3 separate regions of the Homo sapiens genome follow, and all the other regions are linked to region 3. The links are contacts of gene promoters, found by promoter capture Hi-C in human tissues and cell types (Jung and others, 2019). All regions are on one chromosome and are shown on one strand. Each heading gives the region's core, a stretch centred on a gene start or on the middle of the fragment in contact. The rest is flanking DNA. Distances are from core to core; before and after follow the strand shown. Region 1 overlaps UBE4B (ubiquitination factor E4B). Region 2 overlaps UBE4B (ubiquitination factor E4B). Region 3 holds the start of RBP7 (retinol binding protein 7).

The links. Contacts are between HindIII fragments. The study calls those that stand out against the background at their distance.
Region 1: a fragment that was not itself captured here is called in contact with the fragment with the promoter of RBP7 in region 3 in 2 of the 25 tissues and cell types used here (aorta and dorsolateral prefrontal cortex).
Region 2: a fragment that was not itself captured here is called in contact with the fragment with the promoter of RBP7 in region 3 in 2 of the 25 tissues and cell types used here (aorta and hippocampus).

Annotation. Positions count from the first base shown.
Region 1 is chr1:10,180,500-10,184,361 of GRCh38, forward strand. It overlaps UBE4B (ubiquitination factor E4B), which reads left to right. Exons shown (of 28, transcript NM_001105562.3): 28 at 1-740. Among named protein-coding and RNA genes, the nearest start is that of KIF1B, 28 kb to the right of the region's middle. The HindIII fragment of the contact is 5,206 bases long and covers 1-3,862 here.
Region 2 is chr1:10,135,602-10,139,221 of GRCh38, forward strand. It overlaps UBE4B (ubiquitination factor E4B), which reads left to right. Exons shown (of 28, transcript NM_001105562.3): 17 at 1,466-1,604. Among named protein-coding and RNA genes, the nearest start is that of KIF1B, 73 kb to the right of the region's middle. The HindIII fragment of the contact is 4,742 bases long and covers 1-3,620 here.
Region 3 is chr1:9,995,662-9,999,619 of GRCh38, forward strand. It overlaps RBP7 (retinol binding protein 7), which reads left to right and starts at 1,567. Exons shown (of 4, transcript NM_052960.3): 1 at 1,567-1,670. The coding sequence starts at 1,598. It overlaps LOC124903840 (basic salivary proline-rich protein 2-like), which reads right to left and starts at 2,428. Exons shown (of 2, transcript XM_047436754.1): 1 at 2,021-2,428; 2 at 1,058-1,191. The coding sequence starts at 2,369. The coding sequence ends at 1,058. It also overlaps a transcript of NMNAT1 not described here. RefSeq lists a silencer at 3,316-3,516. The HindIII fragment of the contact is 9,171 bases long and covers 1-3,958 here.

The DNA of each region.
Region 1 (3,862 bases), core at 10-2,509, 180 kb after region 3:
CAAGTGTTAATCCTGGGATCGTATTTTTATATCATATTCACATATTTGTTTTTTTAATTGGTGTTAGATGACATGATTAATAAAAAAGGCAAGATATTTTCAGAATTTGAATTTCAGTTTTTTTTTTCTTTTGAAATGTCCCTTTAAGATTTTTTTATTCTAAACAAAATAAAGAAAATCCTGCTGCTCTGGTCCTTGTGATAAGCCTCTCTTCGGCATCTGAGGAGCAGCTGCAGCAAAATCTAGGGGTGTAAGTGTATCAGGACTTATGTGACTTATATTTTGGGGAGATGAGGGTTGGGTTTTTTTTTTAATGCTACGTGACAGTTTGAAACCTTCACAGTTATCCTCTGGGGGTAAATCAATTCTTCAACCCTTGGGTGTGTGAGTTTGAGGCAGGGTCATTTGTGTGATGTGTTTGGCCTTACCAAAGCAAAAGAGGGTGCAAGAATGTGGGAGTATGTCTGCCGGTTTCAACACACACAGACAAACACAGCCACACGCGCACACAAGTATAAGACTTTTTGTATTACTGCTCCCTACTTAACATACTTGAATTCTCAAATTTCCTTTGGGGTAAAAAAAAAAAAAGGATTTGAAACCATAAAGTGTTCTGAAGAAATTAAGTCTATAAAAAGCATACTTTCTTTTTTCTTTTCCTTTTTTCCCTCCACAGACAATGTCCTCTGTTCAATTCCTAACGCAAACTACAATAAATGGTGACACACGTTCAGAAGAAATCTTCTTTGAGTCTCTTCTCTTTTGTGGAAAAAAAAAAAGGGCAGGGCGGGTGGGTAAACAAGAGCCAAGTGAGTTTGCATGTGGTGAATGATCTTTCCTGGATCCAATTAGGAGCTGCTATTTTTAAAAGAAAACTTTCTTATTCATGTCAGTCTCGACATTTGGTTCTCATTTCACTGTTTGCTGATTTGAGGGGGTAAGCTTTGTCATATTCAGTCTTCTGCCTTTCTTGAGTTTCTTCTGCTTTATCTCAAGTATCTTCCCTGACCTTCAAGATTCTTCCTCAGGCCGGGCCCGGTGGCTCACGCCTGTAATCCCAGCACTTTGGGAGGCTGAGGCGGATGGATCACCTGACGTCAGGAATTCGAGACCAGCCTGGCCAGCATGGTGAAACCCCATCTCTACTAAAAATACAAAAAATTAGCCGGGCGTAGTGGCAGCGCCTGTAGTCCCAGCTACTCGGGAGGCTGAGACAGGAGAATTGCTTGAACCTGGGAGGTGGAGGTTGCAGTGAGCCGAGATGACGTCATCACACTCCAGCCTGGGTGACAGCGAGACTCCGTCTCAAAAAAGAAAAAATATATATTTATATATATTTACATATATATTTATTTATATATATTTATATATATATATATAACATGGCCAGGTGCGGTGGCTCACGCCTGTAATCCCAGCACTTTGGGAGGCCAAGGCAGGTGTATCGTCTGAGGTCAGGAGTTCTAGACCAGCCTGGCCAACATGGTGAAACCCCATCTCAACTGAAAATACAAAAATTAGCTGGGCGTGGTGGTGGGTGCCTATAATCCCAGCTACTCGGGGGGCCGAGGCAGGAGAATTGCTTGAACCCAGGAGGTGGAGGTTGCAGTGAGCTGAGATCGCGCCATCGCACTCCAGCCTAGGGGACAAGAGTGAGACTTCGTCTCAAAAAATAGATAGATAGATAGACACAATAAATAAGGAAAAAGTTCATGATAGCAAAAATTTTAGGCAATATAAGCAAAAAGAAAAAAAATCCATATTCTCACCATGCAGAAGATTCTGTTTAATTGGGTTTACTTTTTACTAAACTTACATATCTAAGCTTAGTGCCTGTAGAATTAGGATACTGACTGGCATCTTGCCTAATTTTGTTTGTGTGGTTATCTGACCAGTGTGTACTGCTTGTCTCCTCTCCATCCCAGATTCCAAACTCTTATTTTAATCCTCCAGTTGTCCCCGTGAATGTAATAAAATGCTGCTTTATACCGCCATATGCACTTGTCGTTTTGAATAATTCAGAGGTTTCAAGGACCTGCCGGATAGGACAGAGACACAGTCAGTCTCCTGCCTGTACTATCTATAGGGGGAAGATGATTTGGGTTTCCATTTTTAGAGTCTCAAGAGTTGCTGTTTTGTGTTTGTCTGCAGTCTCTTAATTGTGGATATTGAAATAAATCCCAAAATATATTAAAAGTAGGTCTTGGCTAAAAGGAAGATTGTCAAATAAGAGAATCAGATTGGCAGAAGAGAAATGATCCTTGAGAGAAAGATGATTAAAATCTGCCTTGTGTTGTGACTCAGTGTTGTGTAGATTTTAAAAAGATATTGATTGAATATCTTTTGAAAAAAAAGCTGAGCACACCGTTCACTTTTTGTAACCTCTGGGTTTGGTACATCGAGTAGTGAATTTCACAGCAATTTGATTGGAGTGCTAAAGTGACATGAATAGGCCTCATTTGAGTAGGTACTTTTTTTTGTTTTTTGGTTTTTTTCAGACGGAGTCTCGCTCCGTCACCCAGGCTGGAGTGCAGTGGCGCAATTTTGGCTCATTGCAACCTCCACCTTCCAGGTTCAAGTGATTCTCCTGCCTTAGCCTCCCGAGTAGCTGGGACTAGAGCACATGCCACCATGTCCAGCTAATTTTTTTTTTTTTTTTTTTTTTTTTTTAGTAGAGATGGGGTTTCACCATGTTGGCCAGGCTGGTCTTGAACTCCAGACCTCAAGTGATCCACCTGCCTCAGCCTCCCGAAGTGCTGGGATTACAGGCATGAGCCACCACACCAGGCCTCAAGGTACGTTTTTGATTGAAGGAGACACAGTAGCCTATGAGCTTGATGCTGGTGTCAGATAGTGTTGGTGAAGAAAGTCATTCTGAATTGGTGATGATCATTTGCATTTCATGAGCATATTCTATGTGCAAGCCACTCTTACATGTATTAATTTTTTTTTTTTTTTTGAGACAGAGTCTCGCTCTGTCGCCCAGGCTGGAGTGCAGTGGCGCGATCTCGGCTCACTGCAAGCTCCGCCTCCCAAGTTCACGCCATTCTCCTGCCTCAGCCTCCCGAGTAGCTGGGACTACAGGTGTCCGCCACCATGCCCAGCTAATTTTTTGTATTTTTAGTAGAGACAGGGTTTCACCGTGTTAGCCAGGGTGGTCTCGATCTCCTGACCTCGTGATCCACCTGCCTTGGCCTCCCAAAGTGCTGGGATTACAGACAAGAGCCACCGCACCCGGCCACATATATTAATTAATTTAACCCTCCACAACCATAATGTAGTGGAACTGGCACATGAATCTAGGCCATCTGGCCTTTCCAGCCTCATCTCTTCCCGACTCCTGCTGTATGGCAGAGTTCCAGAATGCTAGAAGTTCAGAATAGCTCAGAATGCCCAAGGAGAAGCAGCATAGCATTTTGGAAGGGACTTTGGCCTTGAGATCAGCTCTAGACCTAACCCCCATTTTAAACAATTAGATAACTTCAATATCACAGCTTTCATTCGTTACTAGCCACTCACGTTGACCCCAGATGTATATCTCAAACCTCCACTTCTCTCCTGTACTGTACACACTGGCCATCTCAGATGACTAAAAGGTCCTCAGACTTAACATATCCCAACCTGAACTCTGTACATTTCACCCCACGCCCGCTCCTCTTAGTCTCCTCATCACAGTAAATGACAACTCCATCCTTCCAAGTCGCTCAGGCCACAAACCTTCGAGTCATCCTTGACTCCGCTGTTGTGCTCTCCTCCTATGTCCAATCTGTCCACAAATCTCTCTGCTCAGCTGGGTGCAGTGGCTCACGCCTGCAATCCTAGCACTTTGGGAGACCAAGGTGGGTGGATCACCTGAGGGCAG
Region 2 (3,620 bases), core at 410-2,909, 140 kb after region 3:
GGCACGCACCTGTAATCCCAGCTACTCAGGAGGCTGAGGCAGGAGAATTGTGTGAACCCAGGAGGCTGAGCTTGCAGTGAGCCATGATCACGGCACTGCACTCCAGCCTGGGCAACAGAGTGAGACTCTGTCTCAAAAAAAAAAAAAAAACAGATACAAATTGAAAAAAAAAATCAAGTTATCATAATATATCTATAAAAAAGCCAAAACCAAAGTGATAAAATAGAATGTAAGTTTTTGAAGAAGTAGGTGATATTTAATCAATTTATTTAACCTATCTGAAGTGAATTCTGGTGATTCATAGCAAAAAATATAATACTGTTGTTCTCAATAATTCTACTTTTCAGGTTATATTCCCAAAGTTGGAGGAAAAAGGAATAATTTTGTTTACATAAATCCTCCCAGTAGTAACATTATTTATAATAGAAAAAAATTAGAAAAAAGAAATATGCAGGGAAACGGCTCTGGAATCAGTAGTTTATTAACATAATTTAATACCATTTCGAGATTTAAATATTTCTGTATTGTGTTGAAAAATGGAGATTTTATACAATACATCAGTAAGGAACATCACCAAAGATTGTTGATGGGCTGGGAATGGTGGCTCACATCCATAATCCCAGCACTTTTGGAAGCTGAGGTGGGAGGAGAGCTTGAGCCCAGGAGTTCAAGACCAGCCTGGGCAAAATAAGGAAACCCCATGTCTACAAAGAAAAAAATTAGCCCAGCATGGTGGCACATGCCTGTGTTCCCAGCCACCCAGGAGACTGAGGCAGGAGGATTGCCTGAGCCCAGGAAATTGAGGCTGCAGTGATCTGTGATCTTACCACTGCACTGCACTGCAGCCTAGGTGACACTAGGTGACAGAGTAAGACCCTCTTAAAAAAAAAAAAAAAAAAAGATTGTGATGGACATCTGTATGCACATTTAACGAGGTAGGACAGAATACGGTGGTCCTTGAATGGAGCTAACAGGAATTCTCTTCTTCTTGTAGTATTGTTTAAGTTTATAATTGCAAAAGTATCCTTAAACTTCTGGCGGGGCATGGTGGCTCACGCCTGTAATCCCAGCACTTTGGGAGGCCAAGGAGGGTAGATTGCCTGAGGTCAGGAGTTCGAGACCAGTCTGAGCAACATGGTGAAACCTCGTCTCTCCTAAAAATGCAAAAGTAGCCAGGTGTGGTAGCACACGCCTGTAATCCCAGCTTACTAGGGAGGCTGAGGCAGGAGAATCACTTGAACCTGGGAGGCGGAATTTGCAGTAAGCCAAGATCGTGCCATTGCACTTCTGCCTGGGTGACGAGAGCAAAAGTCCATCTCAAATAAATAAATAAATAAATAAACAAATAAAAAGTATCTTTAAACTTCATAAAAATTCAAATGTAATTTTCTCTTCTGAATTCAGCTTTTTCTCTGATTGAGACATGTAATAGATTTTATTTAGGGAATGATGTTATTTTTCCTAGATGGCGATCAGCCTCCATTTTCTGAGCCGAAATTCCCTACGGAGTGCTTCTTTCTCACCCTGCATGCTCACCACCTCTCTATTCTGCCTAGTTGCCGTCGCTATATCCGCAGACTCCGGGCTATCCGGGAGCTCAATAGGTATGTGCCATGATACCGTGTCCTGGGATTGCCTGAGTTACCACTTTTTCTCAGGGGCAGGCAATTCCATTGTGAACAGTAGTTTTGAATGTTGGGGGAGGTATGTACGTTATATAGTGTTCTGTCTGCCTCCACCGCCACATCCATGTTGCTCAGTTGTCCAGAGTTCTTTACCTGGTGAAGTGATCCAAACCTTGATTTCTGAGAGTTCTGAACCCTGGATATTTCACTCTGTTTATGGTTACTACAGACTTCCATTAACTTTTCCCACTGGGCATACATTACCAGGAGGCACTTCAAACTTTAAAAGTTTAAAGGATCCCCTGGGTTTCAGACATACCCCTTCTTCCCTGGACTGTGAAAAAGTAACCATGGTTTCCCTTGATAACCAGGATCATTTACTCCTGCCTACATGTAATTCTCTTTTTGGCTTGTTCTGTGGCATGAGGGGTCCAAAATGGCCAGATAGCAGCCTCAAATTTCCAATTCATTAGCACCATGGTTGTGTTTCTTACTCTAAGCATTTTTTCCTGTGTACTAACACCAACAAACAGAAGTCACAGGAACACAGAAGCAAATATTTTTGAGCAGGTTATCTGGAATAATAATGATGCCACTTCTGCTTTTTGGTCTAGAACCTGCGTAGTCTGTCTATGAGAGAAACTGAATCATATTTATATCTCTGTATCTACCTTGCTTAAATCACTTACTAATTCTTTTTTTTTTTTTTTTTTTTTTTTTTTTTTTGAGACGGAGTCTCGCTCTGTTGCCCAGGCTGGAGTGCAGTGGTACGATCTCAGCTCGGTGCAACCTCTGCCTCCCAGGTTCAAGCGATTCTCCTGCTTCAGCCTCCCGAGTAGCTGGGATTACAGATGTGCACCACCACGCCTGGCCAATTTTTTTTTTTTTTTTGATGGAGTCTCACTCTGTAGTCCAGGCTGGAGTCCAATGGCATGATCTCGGCTCACTGTAATCTCTGCCGCCTGGGTTCAAGCAATTCTCCTGTCTCAGTCTCCTGAGTAGCTGGGACTACAGGCGCCCACCACCACACCCAGCTAATTTTTTGTATTTTTAGTAGAGACGGGGTTTCACCGTGTTAGCCAGGATAGTCTTGATCTCCTGACCTCGTGATCCGCCCGCCTCAGCCTCCCAAAGTGCTGGAATTACAGGCGTGAGCCCATGCACCTGGCCCAATTTTTTGTATTTTTTGTAGAGACGGGGTTTCTCCATGTTGGTCAGGCTGGTCTCAAATTCCTGACCTCAGGCGATCCGACTGCCTCCGCCTCCCAAAGTGCTGAGATTACAGGTGTGAGCCACCGTGCCTGGCCTAAAATCACTTACTAATTCTAATAGTTAACTCTGCAAATTCTTTATGATTTACTTTCTACACATAATCATGTCTATAAATGATGACAATTTTATTTCTTTTACTTTTTTTTTCATGCCTTAGTGCCCAGGCTGTAATTTTTAGTACAATGTTGAATAGAAATAACCTTGAAATTTCCATCTTGTTTCAGTTGGTGGAGGAAAGCTTTCTATATATCCTCAGTTACCAGATTAAGAAAATTTCCTTTTATTTCAATAGTTAGTTCCCTTAGCACTGGTTGAATTTTATTAAATACTTTTGCCATATCTGTTGAGGAGACTAGACTTTTTTCTTCTCTATTCTGTTAATGTGGTTGAATTATATCAGTTGGTTTTCTGTTATTAAACCAGTCTTTCTTTCCTGGAGTAAACTTAACTTTTATATTAATGTTTTTATATCTAATTGGATATACAATTTGCTAATATTCTGTTTAGGATTTTTGCATCTGTTCAAAAGAAAGCCTGACCTGTAATTTTCATTTCTTGTTAAGTGCATCTCAAATTTTGGTATCAAGGTTATGCTGCCTTATAGAAGAAACTGGGGGCTGGGCACAGTGGCTTACGCCTGTAATCCCAACACTTTGGGAGGCCGAGGCAGACGGATCACCTGAGGTCAGGAGTTGGATGCTAGCCTGGCCAACATAGTGAAAA
Region 3 (3,958 bases), core at 317-2,816:
CCAGCCTAGGCGACAGAGTGAGAGTCTGTCTCAAAAAATAAAATAGAATAAAATAAAATAAAAAGAATAAATGAAAAAATAAATACCGCGGGTGCGGTGGCTCACACCTATAATCCCAGCACTTTGGGAGGCTGAGGCAGGCGAATCACGAGGTCAGGAGCTCAAGACCAGCCTAGCCAACATGATGAAACCCCCATCTCCACTAAAAATACAAAAAATTAGTTGGGCATGGTGATGGGCACCTGTGATCCCAGCTACTCGGGAGGCTGAGGCAGGAGAATCACTTGAACCTGGGAGGCGGAGGTTGCAGTGAGCCGAGATGGAACCACTGCCCTCCAGCCCGGGGCGATAGAGTGAGACTCCCTCTCTGCCGGGCGCAGTGGCTCAGGCCTGTAATCCCAGCACTTTGGGAGGCCAAGGCGGGCGGATCACAAGGTCATGAGATCGAGACCATCCTGGCTAACACGGTGAAACCCCGTCTCTAATAAAAATATAAAAAGTTAGCCGGGCGTGTTGGCGGGCGCCTGTAGTCCCAGCTACTCGGGAGGCTGAGGCAGGAGAATGGCGTGAACCCCGGAGGCGGAGCTTGCAGTGAGCCGAGATCTCTCCACTGCACTCCAGCCTGGGCACAGAGCGAGACTCCGTCTCAAAAAAAAAAAAAAAAAGAAAAAAGAAAGAGTGAGACTCTGTCTCAAAAGAAAAAAAATAAAAATAAAATCAATAAGTCAGTCTTGGAGCCAGCATATCTAGGCGGTGTTTGTGGCTAATGTTGTAGGTTAGCCCATATTCCCACCCCTTCTCCTTTGCTTTTCTCTGCTCTGAGGCTAAATGCTGCAGACTAGAATCCCCAGGCCCCCTTGCAGTTAGAAGTGGCATTGATACAGTTTTGGCTAATGAAATGTACACAGAAACCTGCTGGGTAATTTCTTTTCTTTTTTCCAACTATCCAGACTTATAGGAGATGGGGAGGTTTGTGCTGCAGGGATACTGACCTTTGGTGCTTTCCCTCTTCCCTACCTTGAATGTGGATGTCCTGGCTGGGAACCCAGCTGCCAGCTCATGACCAGGAGGTAACAAGCAGGAATAAAAGGCCACCAGAGTCACAGAGACGAAGCTGCGGCGTTACCGAGGTGCGAATCACTGTGATTCCTAGGTGCGAATCATCACCAGCAATCACTTCTCTCAGGACTCCTTGTTAAGAAAAATAAACTCCTATTTATTGAGACCATGAGAGTTACGTTGAGAGGTATATTGTTATTGAAGCTGACAATATTCAATGCCATGAGTTTGAAGATCATCCCTGGGTCATTAACATATAAGCAGGGAAGAAAATGTGGCCCGAAACAGTCTGGGACATGAGAAAGCAGTAGGAGAGGAAGCCCCAAGGAAAGGGGGAAGCTGCCGCGCGGTGGGCAGAGCCAGGAGCACCGGGCTGAGGCGGCCGGGAGCGCAGCGGCTTCTAGGGGTGAGTGGGACCCACGCGGCCCCACCTGCTCCTCCCGCGCGCGGCCCCACCCCCCTGCCCCGCCCCGCCTGGTTTATAGGTCCCGGCCCGAGCCTCCGGCCGCCCGCCGGGTTTGTCCCGCGATCCCCGACCATGCCCGCCGACCTCAGCGGTACTTGGACCCTGCTCAGCAGCGACAACTTCGAGGGCTACATGCTGGCCCTAGGTAAGGCGGAGGGGAGGCGGCGGCGGCGCGAGGCTCGCCGTGGGTCTCGGGATCAGGCGAAGGCGGCCGGGCCGGGCCTGTAGGTACGTCCTCTGTCCGTGCCTCCGCCCTGCTGCGCCCACCGTCGCCCAGTCGCCCCCGAGTCCGCTGGTCCTTGGCGCCTCCGTCCATCGGGCGCGGGACCCCAGTCCTTCAGTCCCCCAGTCCGTCCTTTCCCGCGCCCACCCGCCCCCCTGTCCCCACGGCCGTCTCTCCACGCCCTCTGTTCCCCCGGCCGTCGGTCCCCCACCCGTCCGTCCCTGAGTGCCCGCGTCCAGCCCCACGTCCGTCTCTACCCGCACGCGGCACACCTGCGGAGACTGCAGACTCGGGGTCCGGCCGGGGAGGGGGGTCCGGCCGGGGAGGGGGCGCCCGGGACCGAAGCCTCTGCCCGGCCACCCTCCCCGCAGCCGCCTTCCGTGCAGGCCCCGGGGCCCCGGGCGCGCTCCCGCAGCGAAGTCCCAGCAGCCTCGGCGCACCCGGAGCGGGTCGGGGATGCAGAATCCTGGAGCCAGCGGACGACCCTTCAGGTCCGGGCACCCGCGGGAGTGCAGAGCCTGGTTCGGCCCGGGGCGTGCCCCGACCGCCGCCTCCCACGAGGGCTGGGTGCCCGCGGCGTTCTTGCTCCCGGGGGCCCCGCGCTGTGCTTCCCGCCCTCATCGCGGTGCCAACGGTGCGCGGACTCTCAACTCACTGCAACCTCCGCCTCCTCGGTTCAAGCGATTCTCCTGCCACAGCCTTCCAAGTAGCTGGGATTACACGCGTGCGCCAGCCACCACGTCCGGCTAATTTTGTACTTTTAGTAGAGAAGGGGTTTCACTATATTGGTCAGGCTGGTGTCCAACTCCTGACCTCAGGTGATCCACCCGCCTTGGCCTCCCAAAGTGCTGGGATTACAGGTGTGAGCCACGCGCCCTGCCACGAGTGTAGTTTTTCTTGTAGCTTTAGGAATCTGGGAAGTTGCCGTGCCGGCCAATCCCTGAACCCTTGACCCGTGGGCAATTTTTGTTTTCTTTTTTTCTTTCTTTCTTTCTTTCTTTTTTTTTTTTTTTTTTGAGACGGAGTCTCGCTCTGTTGCCCAGGCTGGAGTGCAGTAGTACGATCTCGGCTCACTGCAAGCTCCGCCTACCGGGTTCACGCCATTTTCCTGCCTCAGCCTCTCCGAGTAGCTGGGACTATAGGCGCCCGCCACCACGCCCAGCTAATTTTTGTATTTTTTAGTAGAAACGGGGTTTCACCATGTTGGCCAGGCTGGTCTCGAACATCTGCCCTCGTGATCTGCCCACCTTGGCCTCCCAAAGTGCTGGGATTACAGGCGTGAGGCACCGCACCGGCCAATTTTTGTTTTCTTAACCTTAGGGCCCATCTTAGTTGATAAAGGGGCATTTATTTTGCTCTTTCATATCCCAAGAGATAAGAGTGTTCCTCTGGGTATGGGAAAAGCACCTCTCACTTGAGAGTCTTATGATCTTCTTCAGAGGAAGAGCAGAGAATTCTTTTATGGCCTGCTTCAGGGAAGAGGGGCAAAAGAAGGTCTGAGGGGGACCTTCCTGCTACTGTTATTTCCTCAAATGCCAAGTGATATGGTTTGGCTGTGTCCCCACCCAAATCTCATGGGAGTTGTAGTTCCCATAATTCTCATGTGTTGTGGGAGGGACCTGAGGAGAGGTAATTGAATCATGGGGTAGTTTTCCCCACACTGTTCTGGTGGTAGTGAATGTCTCATGAGATTTGATGGTTTTACAAGGGGTTTCCCCTTTCATTTGGCTCTCATTCTCTCTTGCCTGCCACCATGTAAGACGTGCCTTTTGCCTTCTGCCATGATTTTGAGGCTTCCCCAGCCACGTGGAACTGCGGCAGTTAAACCTCTTTTTCTTTATAAGTTACCCACTCTTGCCAGGCTCGGTGGCTCACGCCTGTAATCCCAGCACTTTGGGAGGCTGAGGCGGGTGGATCAACTGAGGTCAGGAGTTCAAGACCAGCCTGGCCAACATGGTGAAACCCCGTCTCAACTAAAAATACCAAAAAGAAATTAGCTGGGCATGGTGGCGGGCGCCTGTAATCCCAGCTACTTTGGGAGGCTGAGGCAGGAGAATCACTTGAACCTAGGAGGCAGAGGTTGCAGTGAGCTGAGATGGTGCCATTGCACTCCAGCCTGGGCAACAAGAGTGAAACTCTGTCTAAAATAATAATAATAATAAGTTACCCACTCTTGGATATGTCTTTATCAGCAGCGTGAAAATGGACAT